Linked DNA regions of Homo sapiens: regions 1, 2 and 4 are each linked to region 3. The links are contacts of gene promoters, found by promoter capture Hi-C in blood cells and fetal thymus (Javierre and others, 2016). All regions are on one chromosome and are shown on one strand. The core of a region is centred on a gene start or on the middle of the fragment in contact, and the rest is flanking DNA. Distances in the headings are between cores, read along the strand shown.

Region 1 (3,055 bases), core at 250-2,749, 530 kb before region 3:
ACAAAAAAAATCACCTATGTTAGTAGGAGAATCATTTTAGACAAAATCATTTTAGAAATAACTATTTTTTAAAAATTAGCTGAGTGTGGTGGTATGTGCCTATGGCCCAAGCTACTTGGGAGGCTGAGGTGGGAGGATTGCTTGATCCCAGGAGGTCAAGGCTGCAGTAAGCGGAGATAGCACCACTGCACTCTAGCCTGGGCAACAGAGGGAGACCCTGTCTCTAAAAACGAGAAAAGAAAAGAAAAGGAATGACAACTTTTAACATTAAAGCCTTAAAAAATTTCAGAACATACTAGAATGGGATATGACTTATTCTTTCAGTTGGTTATAGAAAAATAAAACAAAAAAATTATTCCTGTTACGTAATGTAAGGTAACTAAGAAATAAGTAGTGCAGTAAGCTTAAAGTGATGTCTATTTATGTAAGTGTGAATATATTTTAAACACCATCTGACTATGTTTGTCAAGTTACACCAATGGATTAACCACAGATGTCCATGGTAAGGATGCAATATTTCATCTGCTATGAGGGATATTGTATTAGTCCATTTTCACGCTGCTATAAAGAACTGCCTGAGACTGGGTGATTTATAAAGGAAAGAGGTTTAAATAACTCACAGCTCAGCATGGCTGGGAAGGCCTCAGAAAACTTGCAATTATGGCAGAAGGCAAAGGGGAAGCAAGGCACTGTCTTCACGAGGCGGCAGGAAGGAGAAGTGCCAAGTGAAAGGGGAAGATCCCCTTATAAAACCATCAGATCTCGTGAGAACTCACTCACTATCATGAAAACAGCATGGAGGAAACTGCCTCCATGATTCAATTCAATTACCTCCACCTGGTCTCTCCCTTGACACGTGGGGATTATGGGGATTACAATTCAAGATAAGATTTGGGTGGGGAACACAAAGCCTAATTCTAAGAATTAAAGAAAGAGGAAAGAAACATGAAAGGTGGCTCAACAGTCAAGGACAGGTTTATTTTAGAGAAAACAAACCTGACAGGGGATTCTGGCCAAGTTAGATCAGAGCCCACTCTCTTACAGACTAAGAGTTTTTAAAGATTTAGGGTGGGAGAGTTTATCAGAGGCTTGGACTGCTTCTGTGTCTCTTCATTTTGCTTATCTGGGAGGGAGAGTTTTGTGTCTGTTCCCATACATCTTCCTGCAGCTGCAGGCATACCCCCCCAGTCTACTTTTAGCTTCCCTATCTTAGTGCACCTGAAGGGAAAGGAATGTGCTTAGTAAGGCCCACTGTTTCACTGGGGTCCATTGTATGAGGGTGAAGTTCGGCAGTTACCCAGGAGACTTCCCCCCCGCCTCCCTCTGTGCCTGAGCTGTCTTATCTGTGTTTTACTGTCTGCTCTTTTCTGGCTGCTTGTAGTTAGAAAAGAAGTGATTTCCTTGAAATGCATGAGGCTAGAAAGGGAGCTTGAACTTAGAGTGGCGGTGTTTGTCCAAGATGACGGTGCTCCTGCTCTGTCATTAACCATATCAGATATTAAAGAAGAAACACATTTTTTTCTAGAAGTGAGGAAAGAATATTAAACAAAAGTGATAGGCAAAAAAGACAGAGAACGTCATCACTGAAATAAGGGCACCATTAATAGGGAGAGCAATAATAGTACTCACTTATTGCTGCTTCAAACCATTATCTTCTATTGTTGGGAATAATGCAATAACCATTCTTATGTGTCACAATCATCACATATATACAAATACACATGTGAAAATACAGATACTGCATGGTGACTAAGCATGTTTGGAATAAATCAAGAGTCTAAGTCACGACATACATAAATCATTTATATCTAAACTGCTAATTCAAGACAGGCAGCGTGGTGTAATGGTTAAGAACATGAATGCTGGAGCCAGATATGTATTCAAATCCTGCCCCTTAATGGTTTCTCAGATATGGCACAAAAAGTACACATAAAGAACCCTTACACTTTGCTAAAACAAAATAAATAAATAACCCAACTAAAAAATGGGCAAAGGCTGGGAGCAGTGGCTCACGCCTGTAATCCCAGCACTTTGGGAGGCTGAAGCGGGCGGATCACCTGAGGTCAGGAGTTTGAAACCAGCCTGGCCAATATGGCAAAACCCCATCTCTACTAAAAATACAAAAATTGCCCAGGCGTGGTGGTGCATGCCTGTAATCCTAGCTACTTGGGAGGCTGAGGCAGGAGAATGGCTTGAACCAGGGAGGCGGAGGTTGCAGTAAGCCGAGATTGCGCCACTGCACTCCAGCCTGAGCAACAGAGCAAGACTCCGTCTTAAAAAATAAACAAACAAATAAATAAATAAATATACTGCTAATTCATACTGGTACACATTTTTGTGAAACATACTAACACTTTTTAAGTGATGCAATCAAAACTCTAGTTACAAGGAAGGGAGAGACATCTGGAAAGGTTGACTAAGGAGCTTGGCAATCCTCTCCACAAAACGCCATGACAAAAGTGGACAAAATTGCCAAAAACAACCAGTTAAAGACTCTGGAAATTTACCAAGGTAATATAACAAATTGGGAAGTGGTTATTCAAGAAAAACTACTGAGGCTTGGAAGCAGAGCAAGATGGCCAAATAGAAGCTTCCACTGATTGTCCCCCGACAGGAACACCAAATTGAACAACTACACACACAGAAAACCACCTTCATAAGAACCAAAAAGCAGGTAAGCAGTCACAGTACTTGGTTTTAATATTATTTTAAGGAAAGAGGCACTAAAGAAGGTAGGAAAGACAGTCTTGAATCACCTACACTACCCTTCCCTCACCATCTGGCAGTGGCCATGTGGTGCAGAGAGAGAATCTGTGTGCTTGAGGAAGGGAGAACACAGTGAATGTGGGACTTTGCATTGGAACTCAGTGCTGCCGTGTCACAGCGAAAAGCAACATGGGGCAGAACTCAGCTGGCGTCTATGGAGGGAGCATTTAGATGAGCCCTAACCAGATGACATCCATCCCAGCAATCAAAACCTGAGTTCCAGCAAGCTCTGCCATCACTGGCTAAAATACTCTGAGGTTCCTATTTCTCCACAGCCTCACCAGCATCT
Region 2 (2,769 bases), core at 264-2,763, 690 kb before region 3:
ATGCTACCAAAAATAGAGTAGGCTTCCTCAAGGAGACGGGCACACCTGGCTATCGGGGTGAACACATCAATCTGCTCATCCACCAGCTGAACTAGACCCAGGTGCCAAACTGCAGTAAATTTGTATCAATGAAGTGGAAGCATGTGTTTTTATTTTTGGGGGGAATTTTTATCAAGTATCTTCAGAGAAGTTTATCTCCTGCTTTATCTTCAAAAACTGGAAAGGAAGGGTCAAAGAAAAGACAGTAGCTCGCCGGGCGCGGTGGCTCATGCCTGCAATCCCAGCACTTTGGGAGGCCAAAGCGGGCGGATCACCTGAGGTCAGGAGTTCAAGACCAGCCTGACCAACATGGAGAAACCCCGTCTCTACTAAAAATACAAAAATTAGCCGGGCATGGTGGCGCATGCCTGTAATCCCAGCTACTCAGGAGGTTGAGGCAGGAGAATCGCTTGAACCTGCCTGGGAGGCGGAGGTTGGGGTGAGCCGAGATTGCGCCATTGCACTCCAGCCTGGACAACAACAGCAAAACTCCGTCTCAAAAAAAAAAAAAAAAAGAAAAAGAAAAGAAAGAAAGAAAAGAAAAGACAGTAGCTTATGTTCATGGCAAGCACCTCTCATCACAGTCCAGTTTCAAGGAAAAATTCCAGCATTTTCTACATTGGCTGCGGCCTCATCTGAAATCAGCACATTCCACGGAGGAAGGAGTCCTGCTTTGCTGCATCTTCTATCCTAGGGTTTAATGTTGGTTAATGAGTAACTCTAGCATTTGTATAATGCTTCCTAAGAATCCTGCAGCAGTCGACCAAGCCCAGGGACATAATTGAATCTGGAGATTCCTGGGGACTTGTTTTGAAAAAGACTCGAAATACACATAGGAAGAAAGGCACAAAAATAAATGTTCACTTGTCTCTGCAAAAAAAAAAAAAAAAAGAGAGAGAAGACATGAAGACACAAATTACCAATATTAGAAATGAAACACAGAGATGTAACTGCAGATCCTGCAGCCATTAAAACAGGGGTATCTAATCTTTTGGCTTCCCTGGGCCCCACTGGAAGAAGAATTGTCTTTCACCACACATAAAATACACTAACACTAACGATAGCTGATGAGCTTTAAAAAAAATGCAAAAAAAACTCACAATATTTTAAGAAAGTTTACGAATTTGTGTTGGGCTGCATTCCAAGCTGTCCGGAGCCACATGTGGCCCACGGACAGCGGGTTGGACAAGCTTGCATTAAAAGGATAGTAAGGGAATACCACAACAACTTTGTGCACATAAATTCAACAACTTGGATGAAACAGTCCAATTCCTTGTAAAATGCAAAGTACCACAATTCACCCACTATTAAATGCAGGTTGAATGTCTCTTATCCAAAATGCTTGGGAACAGAAGTGTTTCAGATTTCAGTTTTTTTTTATTTTGGAATATATGCATATACATAATAAAGTATCTTGCAGAATGAGACCCAAGTATACACACAGAATTCATTTATGTTTCATGTACACTATGTTACCTTATAACATAGCCTGAAGGTAATTTTATATAACATGTTTAATAATTTTGTGCATGAAACAAAGTTTTCACTGCATTTTGACTGTGACCTGTCACAAAATCAGGTGTGAAATTTTGCTTGTGGCATTATGTTGGCACTCAGAAAGTTTTGGATTTTGAAGCATTTTGGATTTCAGATTTTTGAATTAGGGATGCTTAACCTGTAGTCTAAAATGATATTAAATAGATAATCTGAATAGTTACATAACTATTACAGACATTGAAGCCATGATCAAAAAGCTTCCAAATGGAAGTTTCCAGGCCCAGATGGCTTCACTGGAGAAGTCTACCAAATATTTAAATATTTAAATAAAAATTAGTACTTATTCTACACAGTCTCTTCCAGAAAACAGAAGAGGAGGAAATAGTCCCCAACTCATTCAATGAGGCCAGTATTACCCTAATACTAAAACCAGACAAAGCCAAGAGCAGTGGCTAACACCTGTAATCCCAGCACTTTGAGAGGCTGAGGCAGGAGGACTATTTGAGCCCAGGAGATTGAGACCAGCCTGGGCAACATAGTGAGACCCGGTTTACAAAAAATAATAAAATTAGTTGGGTGTGGTGGCGTGTGCCTGGAGTCCCAGCTACTCAGGAGGCTGAGGTGGAAGAATCACTTGAGGCTGGGAGGTCAAGGCTGCAGTAAGCCATGGTCACACCACTGCATTCCAGCCTGAGGAACAGAGTGAGAGCCTGTCTCAAAAATAAAAAATAAAACCAGACAAAGATAGTATAAAAAAGAAAACTATAGACAAATATTTCCCATGAACTTAGATGCAAAAATCCTCAAAAAAGCATTAGCTAATCAATTCCTTCAATATATCCAAAGAATTATACATCACAACCAAGTAGGGTTTATTCCAGGAATGTAAGACTAGTTCAATATTCAAAAATCAATCAGCATAACCCTCCATACTGACAAGCTAAAAAAGAAAAAAAATCACAAGATCATCAAAATTCAGAGTGTTGATGAAATTCAACACCCATTCACGATAAAAACTACTTTTGAAATTAAAAATAGAGGGGAACTTCCTCAACCAAAAAAGAGGGTCCAAAAAAAGAAAGCCCTACAGCTAAAATCATACTTAATGGTAAAAGGTTGAATATTTTCCCCCTAAGACTGAAAACAATGCAAAGATGTCCACTCTCTTATTCAACATAGTACTGGAACTTCTTGCCAGTGTAATAAGGGAAGAAAAGCAGAGGTATAAAGATT
Region 3 (3,059 bases), core at 270-2,769:
AAGGGCCAGTCACAGACACGAGCCCCAAATAACTACGGGCCCACATCACAGAAGGAACACACAGTAAGGACCACAATTACACAGTGGGTCCCCTTTCCATGGATGAGCGTCAGTGTCACAGATACAAACTCCCCAAAAGAAGGGGCAATGAGTCACACACACATTCCCTGCATGCCCCTTCCCACCCAATAAGTGGGTTAGGGTCAATCAAAAGACAGTCGTCCCCCAAGCCCCGCCCCATGGATAAGGATCAGAGTCACAGACCGCCCCCCCTCAAAGGGTAAAGACCAGAGTCACATCCCCCCTCCGATCCCCCAGGAATAGAGACCAGAACCACAGAATATTTCCCCATGGACCGATAAACACCAGAGTAACACAGAGCAGCATCCCCTCTCCTATGCACAAACTCAAAGTCGCAGACAACCGCTTCCCCACTGATAAACTTCGATGTAGCCGACACAGTGATCCACAGTAGCCCACTCCCATCCGTCCCTCCCTTCCCCCAACCCGCATGCACCCATCCCATGTCCCAGTCGCGCACGCGCCTTTGCTCACACCAAAAAAAAAAAAAAAAAAAAAAAAAACCAAAAAAAAAAAAACCCTCCCGGGTTGAGACATTGCACCAACCCCTCCGTTCCGCGCATCTCCCCCGACCCGAAGTCCGCCCTCGCGCCTCCTCTACGTCCCCGCCCCGGGCCCCTTACCTCCGCCCCCACGACCAGCGTCGACGCTCACCTTCTCGGCCCGGGCTGTCAAGGAAGGGCTCCCAGACATCACCTCTGCCCGCCGCCACCTCCTCCAACTCTCCCAGCTCAGCCGGAGCCGGAGCGCGCAACAACCAAGTCCGAGACTGGAGGCAGATCGGGGGGAGGGGAGAAGCGCCAAGCGCGCTGCCCTCCCAGGGAAACTCACTGCCGCCTACTCCCAGCCGGCCACAGTCACCAGCTCAAAATGGCGACGACGAGAAGGGAGTCGGCGCTCCGACCACCATCCACCTACTAAGGAAGCGCGCTCTGGCCGGCCCCGGCGATTGGTCACCGCCCGCTAGGGGACAGCCCTGGCCTCCTCTGATTGGCAAGCGCTGGCCACCTCCCCACACCCCTTGCGAACGCTCCCCTAGTGGAGAAAAGGAGTAGCTATTAGCCAATTCGGCAGGGCCCGCTTTTTAGAAGCTTGATTTCCTTTGAAGATGAAAGACTAGCGGAAGCTCTGCCTCTTTCCCCAGTGGGCGAGGGAACTCGGGGCGATTGGCTGGGAACTGTATCCACCCAAATGTCACCGATTTCTTCCTATGCAGGAAATGAGCAGACCCATCAATAAGAAATTTCTCAGCCTGGCCGAAAATGGTTGGCCCCACGAAGCCACGACAACTGGAGGCAAAGAGGGTTGCTCAACGCCCCGCCTCATTGGAAAACCAAATCAGATCTGGGACCTATATAGCGTGGCGGAGGCGGGGCGATGATTGTCGCGCTCGCACCCACTGCAGCTGCGCACAGTCGCATTTCTTTCCCCGCCCCTGAGACCCTGCAGCACCATCTGTCATGGCGGCTGGGCTGTTTGGTTTGAGCGCTCGCCGTCTTTTGGCGGCAGCGGCGACGCGAGGGCTCCCGGCCGCCCGCGTCCGCTGGGAATCTAGCTTCTCCAGGACTGTGGTCGCCCCGTCCGCTGTGGCGGGAAAGCGGCCCCCAGAACCGACCACACCGTGGCAAGAGGACCCAGAACCCGAGGACGAAAACTTGTATGAGAAGGTGAGAGGCGGGGGGGGGGGGGGGGGTAGTGGGGACGGAACCCCGAAGGGGTCAGTCCGGGATCGGCAGATGGGGCGCTGTAGAGGACGTTCTTAGGCAGTAGAGGACTGCGCGGCCGGCGAAAGCCTAGAAGACTTGGGAATTTTGCCTACCTTGTGTTCCTCCTTTGTCTCTCGGTATCTTCGTTCCAGGGCCAGAGGCAGGATTGGTTTTATTTTGCAGACAGAAATCACACCTCAAGTGGACAGCGCTCAAAACACGTTAGAAGCAGTATAGTACAACGATAATACTAAACACCGATATGGCACTTGCTCGTTGCCGTCTGCATTCTTTTTTTTTTTTTTATAGGGACGAGATCTCGCTATGTTGCCCAGGCTGGTCTCGAACTCCTGGCTCAAGCGATCCTCTCGCCTCGGCCTCCCAAGGTGCTGGGATTACAGGCATGAGCCACCGCTCCGGGCCCCGTCTGTGTTCTAAACACTTGACATGCATTAGCTCATCTTATACTCGAAACAAACCCCATTTCGAGGTGGGCTCTATTATTATACTCATCCTACAGATGAGGAAACTGAGGCACAGAGATGTTAAGTGGATTGCCCTAGCTCACATAACTGAATACATGGTGGAGGTGGAACTGGTATTTGAATTTAGGGCTACCAGGTCTGCTGTGCTGTATTAATAGCAGACGCTGTGAAATCAGGCAGCACTGACGGTTACCCACCCGTGTGATCTTGGTAGCATAAACCCTTGGTGCCTCAGTTTCTTTGTCTGTAAGATGGGAACAGTAATAGGACACCTTCTAAAAAATAGGACACCCCACCTGCCTCATGTAATTAAATGAGTAAAAATGGTCAGAACAGCAGCTGGCACTTCGTAAGTATGTACTCAGCACTAGAATGTGTTTATTATTGCCATGTTTCACCTCACTGAGATATTGTGAGGTGTTTCTATGTGAAAAGACTGGCACATAATAAGTACTTCATCAATACTAACCTCTGGTTAAGGGGCTTGGATATATAGGATGCTTGTTCATTCTGTAAATATGTATTGAGGGCCTGCTGTATGCCAGGCTCAGTTCAGGGCCCTGGGGATACAGCAGTGTGGAAATCAGACAAAGCCCATGCTCTCATAGAGCTTACATGATAGTGGGGAAGACAGAAAATAAACAGTAAAATATTAGAAAACAATAATACAAAGTAGTATAATAGATAATATAACATGAGAATGTATGATATACAGAGAATGGGGAAAGTATGCTACTTAGGTAAACATAGACTAGAAAGAGACAGAAGGAAGAGAGGATGTGAAGAC
Region 4 (2,836 bases), core at 31-2,530, 850 kb before region 3:
TTCTGTTGTTTTATAGTGGCGTGTTTTGTATATCTCAATTGCATACAGTTGGTTGATGGTGTTTAGTTCTATATTCTTGCTGATTTTCTGTCTACTGGTTCTATCAGTTACTGAGAAAAGAGTATTGAGTATACAGTTATTATTGCAGATTTGCCTGTTTCTCCTGTCAGTTGCATCAGTTTCCCTTCATATATTTTGAAGCTCTGTTGTTAGATGCATACACTTTTAGGAGTGTTGTATCTTTTTGGTGAATTAATTAATTCTTTTTTTTGAGATGGAGTCTTGCTCTGTCACCCAGGCTGGAGCGTAGTGGTGCAATCTTGGCTCACAGCAACCTCCCCCTCCCGGTTTCAGGTGATTCTCCTGCCTCAGCCTCCTAAGTAGCTGGGGTTACATGTGCCTACCACCACGCCCAGCTAATTTTTGTATTTTAGTAGAGACGGGGTTTTGCCATGTTGGCCAGGCTGGTCTTGAACTCCTGGCCTCAAGTGATCTGCCCGCCTCGGCCTCCCAAAGTGCTGGGATTACAAGTGTGAGCCACTGTGCCTGGCCGGTGAATTTTTTTATCCTTATGTCATTCATTATCCTGGATGAGTTTTGGCTCTGAAGTCTACTTTGGCTGTTATTAAATATGGTCACTCCAGTCTTCTTTGGTTAGTATTTCAATGGTGTACTTTTTTCCATTCTTACTTCTATCCCACCTGTATTATTATATTTGAAGTATGTTGTGTTTTTTTTTTTTTTTTAGCAGGATCTCCCTCTCTCACCCAGGCTGGAGTGCAGTGGCATGATCTCAGCTCACTGCAGCCTTGACCTCCCGGGTTTAAGTGATCCTCCCACCTCAACCTCCCAAGTAGCTGGGACCACAGGCACACACCACCACGACTGGCTAATTTTTTGTAGAGATGGGGTTTTGCCATGTCTCCCAGGCTGGTCTCGAACTCCTGAGCTCAGGTGATTCGCCTACCTCGACCTCCCAAAGTGCTGGGATTACAGGTGTGAGCCACCGTGCCCGGCCAGTATATTCTTTTAGACAGCATGTAGCTGGGTATATTAGTCTGCTCGGGCTGCCATAACAAAGTACCATAGATTGGGTGGGTTAAACAACATAAATTAATTTTCTCACAGTTCCAGAAGCTGGGAAGTCCCAGATTAAGGTACTGACTGATTTGGTTTTAGCCTCGGGCACTCTTTCTGGCTTGCAGATGGCCACCTTCTTGCTGTGCCCTCCCATGGCCTTTCCTCTGCTCACACACACAGAGAGCAAGCTCTGATGTCCATTTCTCTTATATGTACACCAGTTCTGCTGGGTTAGGGCCCCACCCTTATGACCTCATTTAACCTTAATTGCCTTTATAAAGGCCCAGTCTCTAAATACAGTCACATTGCAGGTTGGGGCTTCAATGTATGAATTTGTGGAGTGGGAGTACAATTCAGTCCATAACAGTTGGGTAATATTTTTTTAATCCATTTTGAAAACTTCTTCCTTTTAATTGGTACATTCAGTCCATTGACATTTAATGCAATTATTGATACTCTTGGATTTAGGTATTTACCACTTTATTATTTGTTTTCTGGTTTTTCTCCCTTTTTATTCCTTTGTTTCTCATTTTCTGCCTTCTTTTGGGTTATTTGAACATTTTCTTAGATTACATTTTTATTTGTCTATTGTGTTTTTTACTATATCTATTTACAGAGTTACATAGTTTTTTTTTTGGTGGTTGCCCTGCAAATTACCATATATATTTAAGTTTACACAACATGCTTAGCATCAATATTTTACCTCTTTAAATGGAGTGTGTGAACCTTACCATCTTATAAGTCCCTTTTCCCTCTCCCCTTTATGTTTTTGTTGTCTTATGTATTAATATTACTTTCACATACATTGAAATTTCTACCAGAAAATGTTATTTCTCTTCCAACTGTCAAATGTATTTTAAAGAACTCAAGGATAATCTATTCTATTTACCCAGATTTTTACCACTTTGATGTTCTTCCTTCATTGTTCACAATCTTAAGTTTCCTTCTGATATCAATTGCCTGTTATGAAGAACTGCCTTTGGCAGTTGTTTCAGAGCAAGTCTGCTGGCAACATAGTCTTGGTTTTCCTTCCTTGAGAATGTCTTCTTTCACCTTCATTTCTGAAGGAGATTTTTACTGCATATAGATTTTTCAGTGGACTGTTGTTTTCTTTTGGAACTTTCACAATGCTGTTCCACTTCTTCTGCACACCCTGGTTTCTCATGAGAAATCCACAGTCATTTAAATAGTTGTTCTCCTGTAAATAATATGTTGTTTTTCACTTGTCCTTAGTTTTCAGCAGTTTGGTGATAATGTGTCTGAGTGTGGATTTCTTTGGGGTTATCCTGTTTTGGACTTGCTGAGCCTCTTGAACATATAGATTTTTGTCTTTTGCCAAATTTGGGGAAGTGTTCAGGAATTATTTCTTCCAGATATTTTTCTGTACTATCCTCTTTCTCCTCTCCTTCTGGAACTCTGATGGCATGAATTTTGGACCTTTTGGTATTGTCCCAGAGGTCCCAGAATCTGTTCATGTTTCTGCAGTGTTTTTTCTATTTTTGGGATTAGGTAATTTTTATTGGTTTACCTTGAAGTTTACTTGCTCTTTTCTCTGATATCTCTGTTGTGTTGGGTCCATCAATTGGGGATTTATTTCAGTTATTATCTTTTTCAGTTTCAAAATTTTCATTTGGTTCTTTTTTTTATTTTTGAGACAGCGTCTCGCTCTGTCGCCCAGGCTGGAGTACAGTGGTGCAATCTCAGCTCACTGCAACCTCTGCCTCCTGGGTTCAAGCGATTCTTCTGCCTCAGTCTC

The links. The method cuts DNA at HindIII sites, captures the fragments that hold promoters and counts their contacts. A CHiCAGO score of 5 or more calls a contact.
Region 1: a fragment that was not itself captured here is called in contact with the fragment with the promoter of NDUFB11 in region 3 in 1 of 17 cell types (monocytes); the score reaches 5.6 in monocytes.
Region 2: a contact is called between a fragment that was not itself captured here and the fragment with the promoter of NDUFB11 in region 3, in 3 of 17 cell types (naive CD8 T cells, total CD8 T cells and total CD4 T cells). The highest score is 6.6, in naive CD8 T cells.
Region 4: a contact is called between a fragment that was not itself captured here and the fragment with the promoter of NDUFB11 in region 3, in 1 of 17 cell types (non-activated CD4 T cells). The highest score is 5.1, in non-activated CD4 T cells.

The regions. Positions count from the first base shown.
Region 1 is chrX:47,674,343-47,677,397 of GRCh38, reverse strand. No RefSeq gene overlaps it. Among named protein-coding and RNA genes, the nearest start is that of UXT, 17 kb to the right of the region's middle. The HindIII fragment of the contact is 2,187 bases long and covers 406-2,592 here.
Region 2 is chrX:47,838,289-47,841,057 of GRCh38, reverse strand. All of the region lies in intron 1 of ZNF81 (zinc finger protein 81), which reads right to left. It also overlaps the pseudogene RPL7P57. Among named protein-coding and RNA genes, the nearest start is that of ZNF81, 2.8 kb to the right of the region's middle. The HindIII fragment of the contact is 564 bases long and covers 1,232-1,795 here.
Region 3 is chrX:47,143,162-47,146,220 of GRCh38, reverse strand. It overlaps NDUFB11 (NADH:ubiquinone oxidoreductase subunit B11), which reads left to right and starts at 1,519. Exons shown (of 3, transcript NM_001135998.3): 1 at 1,519-1,748. The coding sequence starts at 1,542. It overlaps RBM10 (RNA binding motif protein 10), which reads right to left and starts at 1,000. Exons shown (of 24, transcript NM_005676.5): 1 at 736-1,000. RefSeq lists an enhancer at 707-976. The HindIII fragment of the contact is 2,886 bases long and covers 1,175-3,059 here.
Region 4 is chrX:47,995,227-47,998,062 of GRCh38, reverse strand. All of the region lies in intron 3 of ZNF182 (zinc finger protein 182), which reads left to right. Among named protein-coding and RNA genes, the nearest start is that of ZNF182, 7.3 kb to the left of the region's middle. The HindIII fragment of the contact is 5,411 bases long and covers 1-2,836 here.